3 separate regions of the Homo sapiens genome follow, and regions 1 and 2 are each linked to region 3. The links are contacts of gene promoters, found by promoter capture Hi-C in blood cells and fetal thymus (Javierre and others, 2016). All regions are on one chromosome and are shown on one strand. The core of a region is centred on a gene start or on the middle of the fragment in contact, and the rest is flanking DNA. Distances in the headings are between cores, read along the strand shown.

Evidence for each region. Contacts are between HindIII fragments. The CHiCAGO score rates a contact against its expected background, and 5 or more counts as called.
Region 1: the fragment with the promoter of TFDP1 here is called in contact with the fragment with the promoter of CDC16 in region 3 in 1 of 17 cell types (M0 macrophages); the score reaches 5.4 in M0 macrophages.
Region 2: a fragment that was not itself captured here is called in contact with the fragment with the promoter of CDC16 in region 3 in 1 of 17 cell types (M0 macrophages); the score reaches 5.2 in M0 macrophages.

The regions. Positions count from the first base shown.
Region 1 is chr13:113,582,513-113,586,807 of GRCh38, forward strand. TFDP1 (transcription factor Dp-1) reads left to right here and starts at 2,241. Exons shown (of 12, transcript NM_007111.5): 1 at 2,241-2,376; 2 at 3,262-3,337. The coding sequence starts at 3,326. RefSeq lists enhancers at 90-1,063, 1,064-2,035, 4,013-4,295 and silencers at 2,004-2,333, 2,704-3,073. The HindIII fragment of the contact is 39,044 bases long and covers 1-4,295 here.
Region 2 is chr13:113,617,553-113,621,756 of GRCh38, forward strand. All of the region lies in intron 3 of TFDP1 (transcription factor Dp-1), which reads left to right. Among named protein-coding and RNA genes, the nearest start is that of TFDP1, 35 kb to the left of the region's middle. RefSeq lists an enhancer at 1-286. The HindIII fragment of the contact is 6,326 bases long and covers 1-4,204 here.
Region 3 is chr13:114,233,379-114,237,610 of GRCh38, forward strand. CDC16 (cell division cycle 16) reads left to right here and starts at 1,519. Exons shown (of 18, transcript NM_001078645.3): 1 at 1,519-1,754; 2 at 3,267-3,321; 3 at 3,421-3,518. The coding sequence starts at 1,707. RefSeq lists an enhancer at 1,318-1,367 and a silencer at 1,478-1,837. The HindIII fragment of the contact is 7,021 bases long and covers 1-2,783 here.

The DNA of each region.
Region 1 (4,295 bases), core at 991-3,490, 650 kb before region 3:
ATTTGTGGGGAAGACGTTTAAGACCCCAATTTTGGACCCTACGTGTGTATCCTCCTAACTGGAGCCCCCAGGTCTCAGGGAGAAGTCCCCAGAGGCTGGGAGGGTGTCACTGTTGCCATCAGGGCTCAAATACTGACATTTAGGAACACATAAAGAATCCCTGTGAAACAGAAGGAACGGACCTAGGAAGATAGGGCCATTTGAGGAACATCAGTGTTCTCTAAGTATCTATTTGTGTGAACCAGCTCGCAGAAAGTGAGCGTTTCTGGTAGTCTTCAAAGAAGAAACGGGTGCTAACTTGTAAGCAGTTTAAGCCAAGTGACCAGAGCTTTAGGGGGTGCGGCGTTGCCTGAGGGGCAGGAGTGGCCAAAATCAGCATAAAACGTGCAAAGTGGGCTGTCATGTAATAATACACCGCACAGGCAGAGAGGCCTTTGGTCAGCTCCTCAAGTCCTCTGTAGATGTTCCTTACCCTCGGCGCGCACCAGCCTCTGCCGCCTGCTGTGGCCCTGAACTTCGGACTCTTCTCTGGCCTAGCCCGCCCTTGGCTGGGGTGCTCGGGCCTGGCCCTAGCGGCGGGGCCCTCCAGGGTGGATTAAGTCTCCAAGACTCCGGGACCACCAGGCTCACCATGCAATGAAACTGTTTCTGGAGTTTTCCTGTCCCTGCTTTCCCTCCCGAGTCCCGGGCCAGGCTGCGTCCGGTGGGCACCGAGGACGCCCAGAATTGTTGGGAATCTGGGCGGAGGCCCGTCGTGGGCTTGGAGGCCACCGGGTCCAGCAGAGGCAGAGGCCTCTGTGCCACGCACGCACACACACCTGCTCTCCTCCGTGTGTCCACATACACACGTCTATGCACACACCTGCTCTCCATACATGCACAGCCCCACACACAGTCGGCCCTTTATGTGCACACACACTCGTGCACACAAGCGGCCCCCTCTCCTCCGTGCATACAGGCGCACACACAGCTGGCTCTCCTCTTTGAGCACACACACTCAAGCACACACCCGGCCCCGCTCTTCCAAGTGCACACACACTCCTGCACACACTAGTCCCTGCTCCCCCCCCCACACTCGCGCACACAGCCGGCACTCTCTGCTCCCTGCACACAAACACACATCCTGACATACCCGGCCCCCTACCTGCTGCCCCATGTGCACACACACTAGTGCACACACCAGTCCCCGCTCCCTCACATGCACACACACTAGTGCACACACCAGTCCCCGCTCCCTCACATGCACACACACTAGTGCACACACCAGTCCCCGCTCCCTCACATGCACACACACGAGTGCACACACCAGTCCCCGCTCCCTCACATGCACACACTAGTGCACACACCAGTCCCCGCTCCCTCACATGCACACACTAGTGCACACACCAGTCCCCGCTCCCTCACATGCACACACTAGTGCACACACCAGTCCCCGCTCCCTCACATGCACACACACGAGTGCACACACCAGTCCCCGCTCCCTCACATGCACACACACGAGTGCACACACCAGTCCCCGCTCCCTCACATGCACACACACGAGTGCACACACCAGTCCCCGCTCCCTCACATGCACACACACGAGTGCACACACCAGTCCCCGCTCCCTCACATGCACACACACGAGTGCACACACCAGTCCCCGCTCCCTCACATGCACACACACTAGTGCACACACCAGTCCCCGCTCCCTCACGTGCACATGCACTAGTGCACACACTAGTCCCTGCTCCCCCACGTGCACACACACTCTTGCACACAGCCGGCCCCGCTCCCCCACGTGCACACACCAGCTCCCGCTCCCCCACATGCACACACACTCGTGCACATAGCCGGCCCCGCTCCCCCATGTGCACACACACTCTTGCACACAGCCGGCCACCTCTCTCTCCGGACACACACAGTCAGAGGCGCGCACAAACACAGTCCCTTGGCCGCCGAGCGCACGCCGCGCGCGCGCACTGCCCGTCCCGGCGCAGGCCCCAGCTACATCTCCGCACGCGCACGCGCACACACGGACACGCGCGCACAGCCCCTCCCCGCTCTCCCAGGGCGCGCAGCACTGGCGGGAGGAGCGGGAGACCGAGGAGCAGCAGAAGAGGAGGAGGAGGGCGCCGAAGGCGCGAAAAGGCGCGCAGGCGCGCTGCGCGGAGCGGGCCCGCCGCCGCCCACGTCACCGCGCCGCGCGCACGTCACGCCGGCCCGACGCTCGGCCAGGGTGAGCCCCGCGTCCCGGCGCCACTCGGCCCAGGGCAGGGACCCCGCCACGGCCGGGACCGCCCGGCCCGGCCCCAGCCCGCGCCTCTCCGCGCCGCCCCGCGCTCCGCACCGCGCCCTCTCCGCGTCCCCGCCCGCGCGGCCGGACCGGGCAGCCAGGTGCGGGTGGGCAGGGGATGCCGCGGGAGCCGCGGGCGGGAGCCGGGGGTGCGGGCGGGACCCCCGGCCACCCCATCCCTTGCCCCGGCCGCGTGTAGGCGCCGCGCGGCCCCGACCCGCGCCCTCCCGCGCCCTGCGCGCTCCTGTGCCTCGGGGACCCCGCGCGCTCGGCGCTGGTAGGGGCTCCCCAGGTGACCGCGGGGCGGGGGTCCCGGGCCCGGCCCTCCCGGCCGACAGCAGCGTCCGCGCCCCACGCTGGAGGTGGGGCCGGGGCCGGGGCCGGGGCTGGGGCCAGGGTCGGCCGGAGCGCGCAGGGCGGGGGAGGGGAGGCCGCCCCACGGCGGCCCGCGGGGACCCGGTTCCGGCGCGCGCGGGAGGCGCCTCGTGCGGAGGCGGCCCGAGGCCTAGTGACAGGCGCGCGGCGCGGACCCCGGAAGCCCACCTGTCAGAGTTACCGGTCAGCCGGGCGGGCGCCGCCGGGGTCTGGGGTGGACGCCGCGAGCCTGCACGTTGCGCCGGGACCCCGGGGCTGTGCCCAGGTGGGTGGTGGGGCACCCCCCTGCAGCGGCGGGAGGGAGGCGCTGCGCCCTGGCTCCTGGGGCTCGGCCCCACCCTCGGCCGCTGGGCGGGCCGTCGGGGACCTGGGGGTAGTGGTGGTGACCCTGCGGGCCCGCGGGCCACTTTTCCGCAGGGGGCATTTCCGTCTGGCGAGGCGACTGAAAATCCTGAGTGTGGGAGTCGGTTTGGCCAGCTCCGCTCTCAGGATGGAGGGTGCCTTTGGGAAGGAAGGTCCGCGTTTCCTTTGAGATGTGTTATTTTTTAAACTTCGTTTTTCATTCTTACTTATTTCTTGTTTTTCCTTACTTTTTTTTTTTTTTTTACCAGAAAAATCATTTTTCTTCTCTGGGAAGGTGAACATTTGTAGCATTGATTTCCCGGATCTGGTAACATGGCAAAAGATGTAAGTATGTTTGCTTCATGCTGCACACGAATGTTTGCCTCGCACTAAATTCTTTGTAGTTCTCTGCCTTTATTTCAGAATGACAACACATAAGCTACAGTAGTGTTTATTTTCAGACTTTTAAAGCGTCTGAAGCGGGATGAAGGTGAAAGATGGAAGGATCTGATCTCTGAAGCTGCGGTCACCACCCACAAGTTGTGGCCTTGGATACCACACTGCAGTTGGGTGGTGATGGGGTGGTGCCTTCTGACTTTTTCCTTATCTTTACCGACTGTGTTAATTGATAATTTTAAATAAACGCCTTAATTAAATTGAGGTGGAGGGTGTTGCAGCACCGCAGCGAATCCTGCATTTCTTGGGGGGCTTCCACATGAGACGCTGGACGGGGGCCAGGCTCAGGGCTCAGGCTGTAGCCACCTGCTGGCACCTGTCTTCCTACAGAGGAAGTTAATTCCACTTGGGTGGACCAAGAGCTAAGGACTTGTTTTGGCCACTTTTTTTCTCAGAAGGATGAGATTTCCTGATTTATGAAATCTGGTAAAAAATGCTACTTAGCCTGCTTTGCAGTTGTCATGAAACTATAGAATATTTTGAAAATTTTTTAAAGCCAGAAATTTAGTCTATTTTATTGGTGTGCGGTTCTTTACCGTGCTTGGTTATGTCAGTCACTGAAACACCAGCTGGATTCTTTAGTGTTTCCCACCGTGCATCGTTTTGTAACTGAGTGAAAGGTGCTGTTGATGTGTTTACCTACTTACCGCACAGAGTTGGAAAGAGTCCGCACATGCTGCCTCTGCCTGAGATACATCTGTAGCGAAAATGCGTCCAGAGTGTGGAGCCCTCTCCGTTGGCGCAGAGGTTTCAGTGGTCCCTGCGAGGCCTTTTGGGGTGTCTGCCCTCCCTGACCTGCGACCAGGCATGTCACACGGCATCCCTGCCTTCAAGCACTGGGGTCCCC
Region 2 (4,204 bases), core at 1,052-3,551, 620 kb before region 3:
TGCAGAACCCTTCACCTGCAGAGCCGCTCACCTGCAGAGCCCTTCACCTGCAGAACCCTTCACCTGCAGAGCCGCTCACCTGCAGAGCCGCTCACCTGCAGAGCCGCTCACCTGCAGAGCCGCTCACCTGCAGAGCTGCTCACCTGCAGAGGGGTTGTGCTTGGCCAGATAAGCAAACAAAACATCTCCAGCATGGTGGGCAAAATAGTAACTCTTAGACATCTGGCTCTGACAACGTAAAGATGTTAAAATTGTTTTTCAGAAAATACAAAACTGTATGGTTTCATAATTTATCTTAAGCCCTATAGATATTAATAGAATAGGATTAGTAATGATAAAAACGTGAATACTATATTTAGACTCCTTTTTCTGTTAATGGATTATAGCAACTGAGACCATATATATTCTTAACTAGTTTTCTTCCCAAGAAAGGAATTCTCCATTTAAAATGCTGTATATAAAATGTTTTTAATTAGTTCATTTGAAAAACGCTGTGTAGTGCCTTTTACAGTTGAAACAATATTATTTCTATTGAGTTGGCTTGTGGGCCATGTCTTCATGTGACTCAGCTTGTCCCTGAAATGTTAGCCCTCCTCCCTCCCATGCATAGATTGTGTGGCAGTCTTATCAAGAAAATGTGTGGAACACTCTACTCTACTTATATTGCCAGATTAAAACTAAATGATTGGCTGGGCGTGGTGGCTCACACCTGTAGTCCCAGCACTTTGAGAGGCCAAGGCGGGTGGATCGCTTGAACTCAGGAGTTCAAGACCAGTCTGGGTGATGTGGCGAAACTCTGTCTCTACAAAAAATACAAAAATTAGCCGGGTATGGTTGTGCGAGCCTGTAGTACCAGCTACTTGGGAGGCTGAGGTGGGAGGATCCCTTGAACCGGGAGGTGGAGGTTGCAGTGAGCTGAGATTCTACAACTGCACTCCAGCCTGGGTGACAGAGTGAGACCCTGTCTCAAAAACAACAACTACTACTACTAATTGAAATAACATTCTATCCTGAGGTGGACAAAAAAAGTGGTGGGGAGCGGCAGCCTGGCTGCCACTGGTGCGTCTGGCCTGGAATGACCACTTGGGGAGCTGGGTGGACTCTGGGACAGCGGCCGCTGGGACCCGGGCTTCCCTGGTGGCAGGTGTGCCGAGGAAAACACACAGCATGTGGTTCAGTAATAACAAACAGCATTTTCATATGACATCTGTGTTCATATGACCACTTTATTATAATGGCATAGCATAACAGCATTTAAGGAAATCAGCCTGACGGCTCTATGTATGGGTAAATCTGAAACACAATGTTGGCAGAATTGCAGAATGCGAGCCATATAATATTTGTCTGTGTTTCAGACGCACACAAAAACAATCATTTATAGCCTTAGGTTCAGCACATCCTGGAAAAGTATGAAAAATAAAGTGAGTACGTCCCTGCAGGCCCTGGGAGTTGCACACAGGGCAGACTCGGGGGGAGGCTGAGGATCCTGGGGACTGTAATTTTATTTCTGCTCTTTATGTCTCTATGAAACTTGAAGCAAGTATGATGATAACAGTGAATTTTAAGTGTACTGGAATAAAATTGTCATGTTATTGTTTGTATTTGAAAAGTTTCTCAGTGAATAGAAACAAGAAGCCCGGCTGGGCGTAGTGGCTAACACCTGTAATCCCAGCACTTTGGGAGGCCGAGGCAGGCGGATCACCAGAGGTCAGGCGTTCAAGACCAGCCTGGCCAACATGGTGAAACCCTTCTCTACTAAAAATACAAAAGTTAGCCAGTGTGGTGGCAGGTGCCTGTAGTCCCAGCTACTCAGGAGGCTGAGGCAGGGGAATCGCTGGAACGCGGGAGGCGGAGCTTGCAGTGAGCCGAGATCATGTCACTGCCCTCCAGCCTGGGCGACACAGTGAGACTCCATCTCAAAAAAAAAACAAAAAAAAAAAAAAAAAAAGAAGAAGCCCACCCACCCAGGTCTGGCCCCAGAAGCCACTGCCACTGCCCTTTCCAGCCTGTACGTCTGGGTGTGGGTCTGAGATGTATTCAGGGAGGGGCCTTGCTGCTCGCTGTGGTCGGGTGGCTGTGCAAGCTCAGCCCCTATCTCCAGGCCCTTCTGAAGTGCTGCTCGGGGCCGGACAGGGGGTATTCACCCTCAGCCTCAGGATTTCTTTCTTCTCCCTGTTACTGATGTACGTACCCTGCCCTCTGTCCCGTAGAGACTCAGCTGGTGACCCAGGGGTGCTGCTGGGTTGGTGTGGTGTGCCACTCAGAGGTCCTCTGTTGGTTTGTGTCTAGGCTGGGAGGGGCCCTCTGTGCTTGGCAAGGCCTTGGGCTCCGAAACCCTTTACCTGCAGCTGGTGTGGGGGCTCAGACTCCAGGTGGACAGCAGGAGTGAGTGGGGAAGCTCAGGGGCCCTGGATGTCTGCCTGCATTCACTCATCCTGCCCTGGGTACCAGAGGAGGGACCCTCTTCCCTCTGTGTGTTTGTCTCCCCCTTCCTAATTGTGAAAACCCTTAGCGACCCACCCCAGCCTCACGGTGCTGGCCTCTGGCCCAGAGGGAGAGACCTGGTTGGAAGGACAGATGGTGTAGGCAGGCCAGCCGGCCGGCCTGTGGGTGGAGCAGATGGAGGGCAGGCCGGATGCCCCGAGGGTCTCAGCTACACTGCTGTCCCACAGCCCCACCACCACCTGAATCCCTGAGTCCTACCCACACTCCCTGATGGGGCAGGAAAGGGGAGCCCCAGACTGGGATGCCTGAGTGTATGCTACCTGTGGTGCTGGTGGACGGGCGCCGTGGCCTGGCTGTTCAGGACGGAAAGAGCCGCCTGGGCTGCTGATGGAGAGTGACAGTGCCACTGGCTTTTGTGAACTCAGAGGTCTGTTTCTTTCTTCACATTTATTGAAATTAGAGACTCGTTTGCAAATTTTAAAAGATGTTATCTTTGTAATGAATCAACTACATATTCTTGAAAACTGAGTGTTTACTCATCTGTATGTGAATCTGAAAAGTGTTTAATTGCGTACTTTAAATCATTCCCTGCATAGTAGAATATTATTTTTGCTTTTAAAATGCCTTTCCCTGGTAAGTATTACACCGTGTATATGTGCATCCAATCATCACTGGTACATTTCGAATATGTACAATCTTTACTTTTCAATTGAATATTCTGAAAATACCTTTCACATATATAAAACAATAAAAAAGTAAATATTTGCTTTTCTTAGGATGCACACCTTTATTTTTGGAAGAAAATTTCCCAAAGCAGATCATCTTATTTTAGTTCCAGAAGAGAATTTTAAATATGTGCTGACATTGGTTGGTAAAAATACTAATATTTAACCCAGTTGAATCAAAAGGCAAATGTCTTTTTAATCACTTCCTAATGATCTGTCTTGGCCAACTTAGGTTATTAAGAGAAATTACTAAGTGTCCTTATGTAGCACAAAATTCATTGTTTAATATATTTTAAAGAAATGCATAAAAAGCAGTAGATGTTTTAAAAATGCATGGGTTGTAAAGGGCCCCAAAATGAAACTTCAGATCGCAAAGGCAATGTATTCGAAAGTCTCACCGATGATTCATGAGTCATTTTGGTGCTAACTGGTGGGAATGAAGGGAGATGCCTGTGGGGAGGTCCAGGGTCCTGCAGCTCTGCGGATGGGCGGCCGTCCGGGGAGGCCCAAGGTGTGGCGAGATCGGGGAGTTCTTCTTTCCTGATGTTGTTGTGACCCGAAAGTCTGTGTTTTCTTCACCTGAGAGTATCATGTATTTTCAAATGGGGGGCTATCCGCTCAGCTCCCCCAGCCGTGGGGTGGGGTGTGGGTGGCAAGCCACCCAGGTGCCGAGGCAAGAGACCGAGGACACGAGCTGTTCCAGTATAATAAAATATAAAACAAGAATGGTTATTCCAGATATAGATCTTAGATATGATTATATATGAATATCATTAATCATTAGTTTGTAGCAATTACTCTTTATTCCAATATTACAATAATCCTCACTCTACAATCATAACCCAGGAAAAACCAGGCCATACAGAGATAGGAGCTGAGGGGACATAGTGAGGAGTGACCAGAAGACGAGTGCGAGCCTTCTGTTATGCCCGGACAGGGCCACCAGAGGGCTCCTTGGTCTAGCGGTAACGCCAGCGTCTGGGAAGATGTCCGTTGCCAGGTGGACTGTGGTCTAGCGGTAGCCTCAGTGTCAC
Region 3 (4,232 bases), core at 269-2,768:
GAGACAGAAGCTCCAGCAGGATCACCACAGTTCTCATATGAGACCAGGGGCACACGCCGCAGCGGTTCCATTGGTTAGGGATCTCTGTATTTGAAGGAAGATTGCGTTATAACTCCATGAGGAGGGGTAGTGATCTGAGGGGGTCTTATCTCCGGTGCCATTTGGTCTTTATTGTTTACAGGGAAAAAGGCAGAAGTTACAGCTGGGTGTGGCATGACCTAGGCCGCGTAGCCACATTCCCCTCAAGGCTCAGGTAATTCAAAGTTCCAACAGCTTCAAGTTTAAATTATTTTAAGTTTGAATGATTTAATTTCACAAAAGGTAATATATGCACATTGACTGAAATTCAAAAGCACAAAAAGATATCCAAGGAAGTACCTCTCCCACTTCTACCATCTCTCATCTTCCAGCACTCCTTCCAGAGGCCTTGCGCTATGCCGGTTTTCTCATTTTTCCTTCCTGGGACAGTTTAGGGATTTTTCTACCTATCATTAAATTCGTATTTTACTCAAATGCAGGCATACGATAAACACGATCCTATACTTGCTTTTTCCCACATACTATATCTTGAAGATCGTTCAATGTCCATGCAAAGCTGACTGTTCTTTTGAACAGCCAGCGAGTATTCCATTACGTGAGCGTATCATGACCTATTTACTCAGTTCCATACTTCATGGGTGTTTAAATTGTCTGCAATCTTTTGCTATTACAAACGAAACCACAGGTCATTTTGCACACATGCAAAAATGCAAATCCATGGTATATTTCCCAAAATAAAAATCATTAGGTTTAACAGCACGAACACCTTTAAATTTGGAAGATATTCCAATTCGTTCATCCTAGAGAGTATACCAATACCACTCACAAAACTTGAGGGTGCCTGCTTCCCGACATTCCTGCTAGCAGTGTCATCAACCTTTGTGATCTTTGTTAACATATGAAAAGTGGTACTCTAATTTTAATTTTTATTATGAATTAAGTTGGACTTTCTTTCGTATGTTAAAGTCTATTTGCATTTCTTTCCCTGTGAACTGTTTTTTGCCTGTCTTTCTCCTGAGCCATTGGTCTCTTCCCACTGACTTATTACATATATGTAAAGGGAATATTGGCTCTACATTATAAGGAAATTCGAATTTTGTGATAGGTTTCAAATTTTTCCCTAGGTTGTCTTTGACTTCATTTGCTGTTTGTGCACACAATTTTTTTTTTTTGTAATGAGAGTGCGTTGCTCTTATTTTTAAAATGTTGACTACATTCTGGGGAAAGAAGGCTCAGCAGCCACCTGCTTTTTTGCCCGGGTGGGTGGTCCGGCCCCGAGCCCTCCTGACTCTCTCGCCAATGCCCAGAGGCGCCGCAGCGATTCCAGGGAGGCCGCGCTCTCGCCCCAAGGCAACCAGAAGCCCACGTGCCAGGAGAGGCATCGGAACCAACAACTCGGGTCCGTTTTCCCGCGCCAGATGGGATTCGTTTGCTGTGGACTTCCGGGGCGGGGCCTGCCTGGAGCGGAAGAGCCTGGGCAGTGCACGGGGCCTGGGTGGGGGGTGCGGGTGTGGGTGGGGACCTGCGGCCTTCGAGTCCGCGGCCTTCGAGTCCTGGGGCGGCGGCGGCGGCTGCAGGCACGGGCACGGGCACGGGGCGGGGTGCTTAGGGTGCAGGAGGCGCGCGCCTAGCGGCGGAGTGTGGCGTGAGGCCGGGCCCGCGCCGCCATGAACCTAGAGCGGCTGCGGAAGCGCGTCCGGCAGTACCTCGACCAGGTGGGCGGCCCCGACTCGGGGTGCGGGGCCCAGGCCTCGCCGGGTCTTTTTCCGCGCGGCGTGGGGCTGGGGTGACTGTTGTCGGGGCTCTTGGTGGGGAAGGACTGGGCCGGCCCTGGGCCTTCATCTGGGGCCAGCAGCGCTGTCTCCGCCTCGCCCAGAAGGGAGCGGTCCCTGCAGCTGGGAGGGGCACAGCCCGGGGAGTGGAGGCCCCCGAGCGCACGGGGCGCCTCAGTCGGGTCTGAGCCTCGTTCTGCACCTGGCGCGGAGGAGGTGCCCAGGAAACACTGACTACTCAGTGCAAGTTGAAGGACAATTTTTGGAGGAAAGTTGCAGGGCTAGCTAATAAAACATTTTTGAGAGGTTTAGTTGTAATTTTTACTGGGCTGAATTTAAGTGAATAAAGATGTGAAGAAGCCTGTTGTCTCAAATCAATACTTTAAAAATTCTCGTTAACTATGTCTGTGTTCTCTGCACTACCTTTGAATAGCAGAGAGCGTTTAAGGCAAGAAGTGTCTTCGAGAATCAGCAGCATCAGTTTTATCTATATTGTTGTTTATTTTTTGTTGAAATGCTTGCTCTTTCAGGAAATTGGAAAGAAAGGGAAAGAAAAGCCATGGTAATGCAGAGTTTTCGGAATTGGGTGCTAACTGACGTGGCCAAATGTTTGCAGTCCATTTGGAGGGCTGTGTTTTTATTTACCATGAGTCAGTTGAATTCAGTGTTTTCTGATCACTTTTTCTTCGGTACGGAGACGTAGTGAGGAATATGACAGGCCCGGTTTCCAGCCAGAGACACCGGTATTGAGCATATTTATAACTATCCCGTTGGCATTCCTCCTGCCTCGGGCTAGCAGCAGTGGTCCTGGCTTGTCTCCAGGGGAACTGAGGCAGAGACTGTAGAAGACTGAGGACTGAGGAGCAGAACAGGGTCTAAAGCTAGCCGTAGGTCACTGTGGGTGGCCCTCATTGTCGGCTCCTTCATTTTTGTTAGACTTGGAGGAGGTGAGTTCTTCCCCATGTTCAGTGAAGCTTAGTTAATTTATGTGTGTGTGTTTTTAAACTTGAGTGTTATTAAAACTGCCACTGTGTTATATAAGGTATTTGAGTATAGTGTTCTGTCTTCTAAATTTCACTTTGGGATTCATTAACAGCTCGTTGAAAGTGTTATATAAATCACACATGAATTGTTAATGACTAGCTTTTGCTGTTTCACTTGCATTTCACTTGTATGTTTCACGATACATTTTTACAGTGTATGAGTTTTAAAAAATTACCTTCATAAGTTGCATATACAAAGATATTACAGGAATGTTTGTATTGCGACACTGAACTAAAATTTACCCTACGTGAGATGTAAGATAGAGATGTAACAAATTGTTGTCTTGAGATGAAGATTTATTACATAGAATTATATTAATATATTACATAGAATTATAATAATATTAGATAACTGTTTAAGACTATTAAAATAACAGGGCAGTTACCACCTTTTTTTTTTTTTGGTATGCAGCAACAGTATCAAAGTGCTCTATTTTGGGCAGATAAAGTAGCTTCACTCTCTCGTGGTAAGTGACAAAATGCTAACTGGTTTTCTGATTAATCTTAAAATTCGTTTTCTATTTCACCTTGTACCTCTGACCACTTATGTGAATTTTTCCCTCCAGAAGAACCCCAGGACATCTATTGGTTGGCTCAGTGTCTTTACCTGACAGCACAATATCACAGAGCCGCCCATGCACTTCGGTCACGAAAACTGGACAAAGTAAGTGATGGTATGAACTTTAAAGCTCTTCAGAGCTTTAAAAAAAATGTCATTAGTGGCCGGGCGCGGTGGCTTACACCTGTAATCCCAGCGCTTTGGAAAGCCAAGGCAGGTGGATCATGAGGTCAGGAGCTCAAGACCAAGATGGTGAAACCCCATCTCCGCTAAAAATACAAAAATTAGCCGGACGTGGTGGCAGGCGCCTGTAATCCCAGCTACTCGGGAGGCTGAGGCAGAGAATTACTTGAACCTGGGAGGTGGAGGTTGCAGTGAGCTGAGTTCGTGCATTGCACTCCAGCCTGGACAACAGAGCAAGACTCTGTCTCAAAAAAAAAAAAAGTCATTAGGGTTTTAGGTGTATATTCCATTTCTGTTGAAATTATTTAACTTGATGCAATTTTTCTTTGTTTTTGTTTTTTTGAGGTCTCTCTGTGTCACCCAGGAGTGCAGTGGGATGATCGTGGCTCACTATAACCTCAGACTCCTGAGTTCAAGTGATCCTTCTGCCTCAGCCTCCCTAATAGCTGGGACTACAGGTGCATGCCACCACACCCAGCTAATTTTTAAATTTTTTTGGTAGAGACAGAGCCTCACTATGTTGCCCAGGCTAGTCTTGAACTCCTGGTCTCAAGCAGTCCTCCCGCCTTGGTCTCCCAAAGTGCTGGGATTATAGATGTGAGTCATCACAGTAGGCCCAGTTTTTTTTTAGTGAAA